2 separate regions of the Homo sapiens genome follow, and region 1 is linked to region 2. Evidence: promoter capture Hi-C in 16 types of primary human blood cells and fetal thymus (Javierre and others, 2016). All regions are on one chromosome and are shown on one strand. Each heading gives the region's core, a stretch centred on a gene start or on the middle of the fragment in contact. The rest is flanking DNA. Distances are from core to core; before and after follow the strand shown. Region 1 holds the start of GABPA (GA binding protein transcription factor subunit alpha). Region 2 has its middle 110 kb from the start of CYYR1.

What was found. The method cuts DNA at HindIII sites, captures the fragments that hold promoters and counts their contacts. A CHiCAGO score of 5 or more calls a contact.
Region 1: a contact is called between the fragment with the promoter of GABPA here and a fragment that was not itself captured in region 2, in 3 of 17 cell types (total CD4 T cells, naive CD4 T cells and non-activated CD4 T cells). The highest score is 7.9, in total CD4 T cells.

What each region holds. Positions count from the first base shown.
Region 1 is chr21:25,732,591-25,736,434 of GRCh38, forward strand. GABPA (GA binding protein transcription factor subunit alpha) reads left to right here and starts at 2,382. Exons shown (of 10, transcript NM_002040.4): 1 at 2,382-2,988. It overlaps ATP5PF (ATP synthase peripheral stalk subunit F6), which reads right to left and starts at 2,314. Exons shown (of 4, transcript NM_001003703.2): 1 at 2,263-2,314. RefSeq lists enhancers at 1-443, 1,736-1,815, 2,134-2,789, 2,216-2,325, 2,346-2,465 and silencers at 1,926-2,025, 2,966-3,105, 3,166-3,375. The HindIII fragment of the contact is 6,464 bases long and covers 1-3,844 here.
Region 2 is chr21:26,682,633-26,686,163 of GRCh38, forward strand. No RefSeq gene overlaps it. Among named protein-coding and RNA genes, the nearest start is that of CYYR1, 110 kb to the left of the region's middle. The HindIII fragment of the contact is 2,930 bases long and covers 40-2,969 here.

The sequences.
Region 1 (3,844 bases), core at 1,132-3,631, 950 kb before region 2:
AGCTGTGATTGCACCACTGCATTCCAGCCTGTGTTACAGAGTGAAACCCTGTCTCAAAAAAAAAAAAAAAGAAAGAAAGAAATCCTACAATCAGGCCGGGCGTGATGGCTCACGCCTGTAATCCCAGCACTTTGTTGTAATCCCAGCACTTTGGGAGGCCAAGGTGGGTGGATCACCTGAGGTAGGGATTCAAGATCAGCCTGACCAACATGGAGAAACCCCGTCTCTACCAAAAATACAAAATTAGCCGGGAGTGGTGGCACATGCCTGTAATCCCAGCTACTCAGGAGGCTGAGGCAGGAGATTCCTTGAACCCAGGAGGCGGAGGTTGCGGTGAGCCGAGATCGCGCCACTGCACTCCTCCACCCTGGGCAACAAGAGTGAAACTCTGTCTCAAAAAAAAAAAAAAAAAAAAAAAAAAAGAAATCCTACTATCAATGCAATCAACAAAATATGCTTCACCTGACAGAATGAAAGCAAACTGTTTGAAGAAATTAAAGAATTCATAACATATCACTTTTATACCCCATCAGGGAAAAATACTTGAGAAAAGGCTACAAGCAAACAACAAATGACCTCACAAGGTCATGTGCCACTTATTATCATTCCTATGTTTAAACACACAGAAACTGAGGATTAGAAGTATCTGGTCAAAGTGGTCGGGCGCGGTGGCTCACGCTTGTAATCCCAGCACTTTGGGAGGCCGAGGCGGGCAGATCACGAGGTCAGGAGATCGAGACCATCCTGGCTAACACGGTGAAACCCGGTCTCTACTGAAAAATACAAAAAATTAGCCAGGCGTGGTGGCGGGCACCTGTAGTCCCAGCTACTCCGGAGGCTGAGGCAGAAGGGCGTAAACCTGGAAAGTGGAGCTTGGAGTGAGCAGAGATCGTGCCACTGCAATCCAGCCTGGGCGACAGAGCGAGACTCTGTCTCAAAAAAAAAGTATCTGGTCAAAGTTACACAGCAAAATCTAACTTAACACATATATGCAAAAAAAAAAATTGTGCAATTCAATGCCACTTTCCCTTCTGGCAAACTAAGGACATGCTTAACATTCAGCAATAGGTTCACCCGACATTTGCTTAGCCCTAGATACTGTGCAAAGTACTTCCATATATATCCTTTCCTTGTACCCTTACAGCAATACTCTCAAAGAGTTAAAGTGTTCTTATCCCTGCTTTACAGATGATAAAACTGTATCTAAGAAAGATTAAGCTGCACGTATTCTCACAGTTAATTTGCTCTAAGTCTGACTGCATAGATGTTACTCCTTCTGCAACACGGGTAAAATCCACTTTCATTGTTTCAATTATCCACCATGTAAGTGCCTATGATTCCCCAATCGCATTTCTAATTTTAGTATTCATCCTGAGCCCCAAATCTATCCACAGCATTCAACAGTTCTCATCTCCCTTATAAGTCCTACGAACTCATCCAAAAAACGAACACATAATCCCATATCAAAACTTGTTCCTTCTCCTTTAATCCCTTTCATTTTTTTTCACTGATTAGTGAATGCATATTGTCCACTAAAACGCAGAAGATAGTCATTACACAAATAGCTGTGAAATACCACCTGACATAAATTCTCTATTCCAGTACCATCGGGTGCCACGAGAGCATATGATAGCGTCTGACATGATCAGAAAGACTGGGGAAGGCAACAGTAAGAAAACACTAGTCTGAGCAGAGGCCTTGTTCTGGGTGGGAGCATGGTTCTATTTATAGTGATGACTGACCGGCCAAAGGTTAGTAGGTTCGCTGCCTCTTCAGTGCATATTCCTATGAACAATCCATAAAGTCGCCTAATGAAGTGTTAGCACCATCGTTTTTAGGTGGGATGCAAACTTTCAATATTATGACTAATTTTTTCCCTCTTAATGGTACACGTTCTGCCTAAGTAGCCTAGACGCTCCCGTGCGCCCGGGGCGGGTAGGCCTGGCCGAAAATCTCTCCCGCGCGCCTGACCTTGGGTTGCCCCAGCCAGGCTGCGGGCCCGAGACCCCCGGGCCTCCCTGCCCCCCGCGCCGCCCCGATTTGCCCTCAGAGAGGGTATCGATCTTATTTCTGGGTCTACGGCAAACTCCAAGGTCTACAAACGTAGAGGTCAGCTGTGACCCCGGGCCAGGCCGTGAAGGTCCCCAGGACACAGAGCTGCTCTCTCCTCCTAGTAAAGGTGAGAGGCAGCCCAGGCCTCGTGAAAAAACCCAGAACTGGAGTCCCAAAAGGCCACGCTGATCTAGCTACCCTCCCAGTCACCTTGCACTCAGTCCCGAGCTGCCAAAGCCTCCGCCGCCACCACCTCCGCTCTACTTCCGGCCCTGGCTCCGCCCCCACACGCCTACCCGCCATCGCAATGCATTATGGGCCGCCGTTTCAGTCGGTCGACGCTCACCGGACAGGAAGCGTCTCGGAGACAGTCTGCGACCGGACGGGTCTAGGTGAGACAGAAGCCAAACAGGAGGAGGAAGTGGAGGGTAAGTGCTTCCGGGTCCCCTGGCACAGCCTCCGCCATCTTTTCTTCGCCTAATTTGACCCGTTCTTTTTCCCCTCCTTGAAACCTTGCTCTGTACGCATGCGCTCTTTGAGTGGCCTTTCCCCTAGTTCAAGCTCCCCTCCGAGTCAGCGTCCTGTTCGTTAGGGTTATCGAAGTGTATAAAGGTGCAGGGAAAGTGAGACTGTGTAAAACAAAGCGGATTGGGGCGTTGTGCTTCCTTGTACCTCGTGAGCCTCCGTTGCCTTGGGCGGTCGTTTTGCGCACCCTGCCGGGAGTTGTAGTCCTGGACCCGAAGGTGCCTGGGAGGCGGGAGGGGGGTTGGGGCTTCTCAGCGCCGATTCCGCGGGAAGGGCCCTGGGACCTCACACTTCTAGTCGCGGGAGCTGCAGGTCTTACCCGGAGAGACGCTGCACGTGGAGCCCTCGCCGCTGCCGTTCTCAGCCGGCTCTGGAGTGCGGGCGGGGGCGACAGGGCCGATTCCGGAGTGGGTGAGTGCGGCCGCCGGGGAGGAGGGGAGCGCGGGCCCTCGCGGGCCGGCCTCGTTCCGGGGCCTTTTCCCCCACAAGGGCCCCCCCGCGGCCGCCTCTGTGTTTTGTTTCCGCTGGTCCCCGGCGCTGTGACTCCCATTTCCGTTCGTGGAGACTTGAGGGAGCCGGGTGGGGAGGGGCGGGAGAGCTGTGCGGGGAGCGAAGGGGAGGGGCGGGGGGCGAGCGGCCTGGAGCCCGGGGGGACCGGGCACCGCCGGGACCCGTGCCGGACGGGTCGCCTGTCGCCGCTCCCTCCTTTCCGCGTCCCCTCCTCGCCCGTCCGCACTCCTCAGCAGTCTCAGCCTGCTCAGCTGGGATGTGGTCCTGACGCCCCCGAGATTTTAAGAGCAAAATGCAGACCCTGTCTCATCGCGGGACTCAGCGATTCACTCATTTCAAATCCGCTCTCTTTATAGAACAACACACACCAGAATCATTTATCAGCGTATATGGTAGCCATCTGGGTTTGTTTTTTTGTTTTTAAGCAAGGAAGTAAACCAAGGAGATAACAATGGGTTGTCTACTTGGAAATTTTTTTGTGTACTAGAAGACACGCTGTATGTGCGTGTTTGGATTTAGGGACCCCAGTTTGATCAGGTTAGCGGACCGAGAGGACAATGCCTAATATTGCATTGCAAGATGATTAGAAATTTAGAAATAAAATTCATTTCATAAGTAGTTTCCACTAATAGCAGTAGGTCTGACTCGTGAGAAGAGCAAAGATTTAGCAGGATTCACTTGAGCGAATTGTAGAACGAGGCGGTGATAACATTCTTCGGTAGTGTTATCTTGAACTTCAGAAGAAACCGCTCAACTC
Region 2 (3,531 bases), core at 255-2,754:
GAGTCTATATTTATGTGACAGCTGTCAGTCTGAAATCAAAGCTTTGTGAATCATACATTGAGATAAGCTCAATTAACTACATCAAGAAAGTTTGATAGCAAAAGTGGTCCAGAAACATTTCATCATGAAGATTGCAGAAGTCATTGAGTCCCTAGACACAATCCTTGCATCTAAAGTAACAGTTATCAGTTTTAACACAAAAAGTAATAGATGTAGAAGTTACTTGAAATAAAAGGCTAAAATACAACCTTTGTCCTAAATGCTTTTGTAAACTGATCAAGGACTCAAAGCCCACATGCCACATCCATTTGTCACACAGTTATTGAAAAGGAGTCAGTGTTGACTGGTGCACTTGGAGAAGTCTTTTTGCAAGAGTAGAGTGAATAGTGAGTACTGACTGATCAAGAGGAGGCAAATACATGGAGGAAAAAGAGAAAGATCATTTTAGACTGTAAATTCCCTGAAGGTAGAAAATATATCTCTTCATATTATCTGTCAAGCATCTACCACACAGGTTGGCTGAATTATTTTGAAGAAAGTTTGGGATAGCGCAGGAAGAAAAATTATGAAGTGTGCAGGAAGTGGCAAAAATTGACCTATGTTGAGTGGAGGGTATATTCTGGAATGATTAATGTGGATGCAGAGGGAAGATCATGACATTGGCTGTATTATAAAAGCTGAAACAGCAGTAAAGAGTAATTATAAGAGATGATGGGTGAAGTAGTGATTACTGGGTGTCTTTTCAGTGAAATGATGAGTTTATCTGGTTGTATAGAAAGGCGCACCTTAGATTGTTTTTCTGTTGACTGAGCTATATTGCAGCTGAGTAGAGGTAGAAGTTAGGTTGTAGAAAATTTGTGACTATGCAAATAAATTTTGATTGTTTGAGAAAAAATTGGTTCCTTCTCTGTAGAAAAGATGAGCCCAAAGTTTACATTTTATTGTATTATATGACATTAACCAGTTTTGCATTTACTAGCAACTGCAGTTCAGCATTCCTGATTTTATATACACAGCACACACACATATACCCATACATATACATTTATATGTATATATTCTGTTCTCTCTTGAACTGCTTTTAACATCTTACTGATTGTCTCAGCCATTAATTCCCTCACTTTAATCCTTGTTCATTTCATATTTGAACAAGAATCATAATTTTGCCTTTTTGAAAATTTAACATTAGCAGCAGGATAGATTGTCTGGGGAAGAAGTTTGTAAGTCTAGAGATCAATCAAGACTGTTTTAAGGAATTCTATCCCTCAGTACTCAAAGTAGGAAGTTGAGGTCCTACATTTGGGTAACCAGCATATTTTGGAAAATAATGGAAAACCTGAGACGTTTTGAAAGCAAAACCAGAACAGAATTTTTTTTGGGTGTATATATAGACAAGTCAGAGGTAAAGTTGTAGCTCGTAAGCCACTCGAGGGAAAGCAAAGATCTGGGCCACCCTTGATCTTTTTTCTAAGACATGATCTAATATTTTATGAAATGTATCCCCAGGAGGCTTAGGTGACTTGCTTCATTCTCTCCTCTGGGAGTGTTCCTTGCATCATATTGTGCCAGGGAGTTGCTGCCAGGTCTTAGAAGTTGCTTGGATAGTTTACAAATGGGGAAGTACATATTGATAAAGCTGGAAAAAACCTTGGGGAAAAAAAAACAAGTGAAAATACCTCAGCAACAACATACTGTTAAAAATTTCTATTTACCTCTTGTCAACAAATACATCTTTAAATACACAAACATTTTTAAACATTTAAATACAAATACTTTTAAACATATTACTGTGATGGGAAGAATGTAAGCAACCTGTGTTCAATGAAAATAAAAAGTGATGTAATTTATGACATTCATTCAATGGAGTATTATTTATTCATGAAAAAGTATGCTTGTGAAATTGGTATTTTAACAGTCATTTATGGTATGATTTATATGGCAGATTACTAAATTGCAAATAAAATTTGACTTCAACTAAGTAAAACAGACAAACAAAAATATGTATCTGCTGATTGAGACTCCAATGTTGGCCCCAGAAATTTGTATTTATGAATTTCTTTCAGATAATTCTGTTCAGCAACAAGATTTGGGGATCATTATTCAAATTCAACAGATTCTGATTCACAATAATTTATTTAGCAATCTGCTGTCTTCCTGCCTACTGATACATTTATCATTTCAGAAGAGAGAGCAACTTGCATGATTTTAATAGGGTAAATTTTTGGGAAATTTTGATTTCTTAGAAATTTATTCAGTAAATATGATCGAGCATCTACTATGTGTGAGACATGATCACAGAGGCACTGAGGATACATCAACAAACTCCAAACTTGGTAAACATAATAAGTAATATTCACCCTTTATTTAAACTGAGTCACTAGAATGTAAATTACTATACGTACATTCCAGTGGCTTAAATTCTAATGACTCAATGTAAATACATGAAGAGAGAACTTTACATGTTAATGTCCCTTATCTAAAGGAATAACGTGTATGTATGACAGAGTAGCTTCTCTACATTCTTGCCCAAGCATAGCAGCTTTAGCAAACGTGTACATAAGGCTGCCTATGTATCCAGCACTATTCTAAGCATTTCATATGCATCAGGATAGTTAATCACATTTTATTATAGTAGAGTAAAAGATGACAGGATAGTATATTCTGTCTTTACCAGCCCCTCACCCAACACTCAGCTGCTCACTCACTCACGGACAAGAATGCCTGAGGAAGCCCTGGTCATTTCACTCAACATTCCCTCTACTTTGACTGTGCTGGGAAGTCTTTACCTCTTTTCCACTATCAGCAATCCCCCCTCTTTCTTTCCAATTTTCTTCTTTTCCAGTCAACGACTACATGCCCACTAAAGGAGGGCTCTAAGAAGTGGTCCTCCACCTGCAATATCTCATATAAAATCTGCTGTAGGTCTATGATGGAGGAATTCATACAGTGTTTAAAGATAAGAAATACAAAGCTTAGAATGCTGAAAGGTTCATAACTAGCTTCAAACTCTGTATTATGGTTAATTTCCATGTGTGATTTACAAGTGATACTAATATGCTCTTGATTTGTTTTCTAAAATTAGGATCTTAAGAACCACTGGGTTGGTGAAAGAAGTATTGGATGAATCTGTGTTTTCCAAATTCAACCAACTTGGACAAACATAGTAGATGCAAGTTATTAGTAAGGTTCTAGTTATCTGCTTGGATAAAAGCCTCATGAGTGTTCATTATCTTGTTATGCTTTATAACAGACATATGTTACTCTATTATATATATGTTATCTATAAGATATATATAATGTTATATATAATATCAATTAAATTAAAATAGATCAAAAAAAGGAAAACAATAATACAAATATGCCCATTTAAAAATCTGGATAGAATAAACAACACAATTGAATGATAACCTTAGCATATTATATTTGAAAATATACAAATTCTAAGCTACAGTTTATCCCTTCCTCATTTCTTAGATCACTGCGGTTGGAACACTAGTTTTTTAGTAGAACTTATATTTCTATCATCGTAAG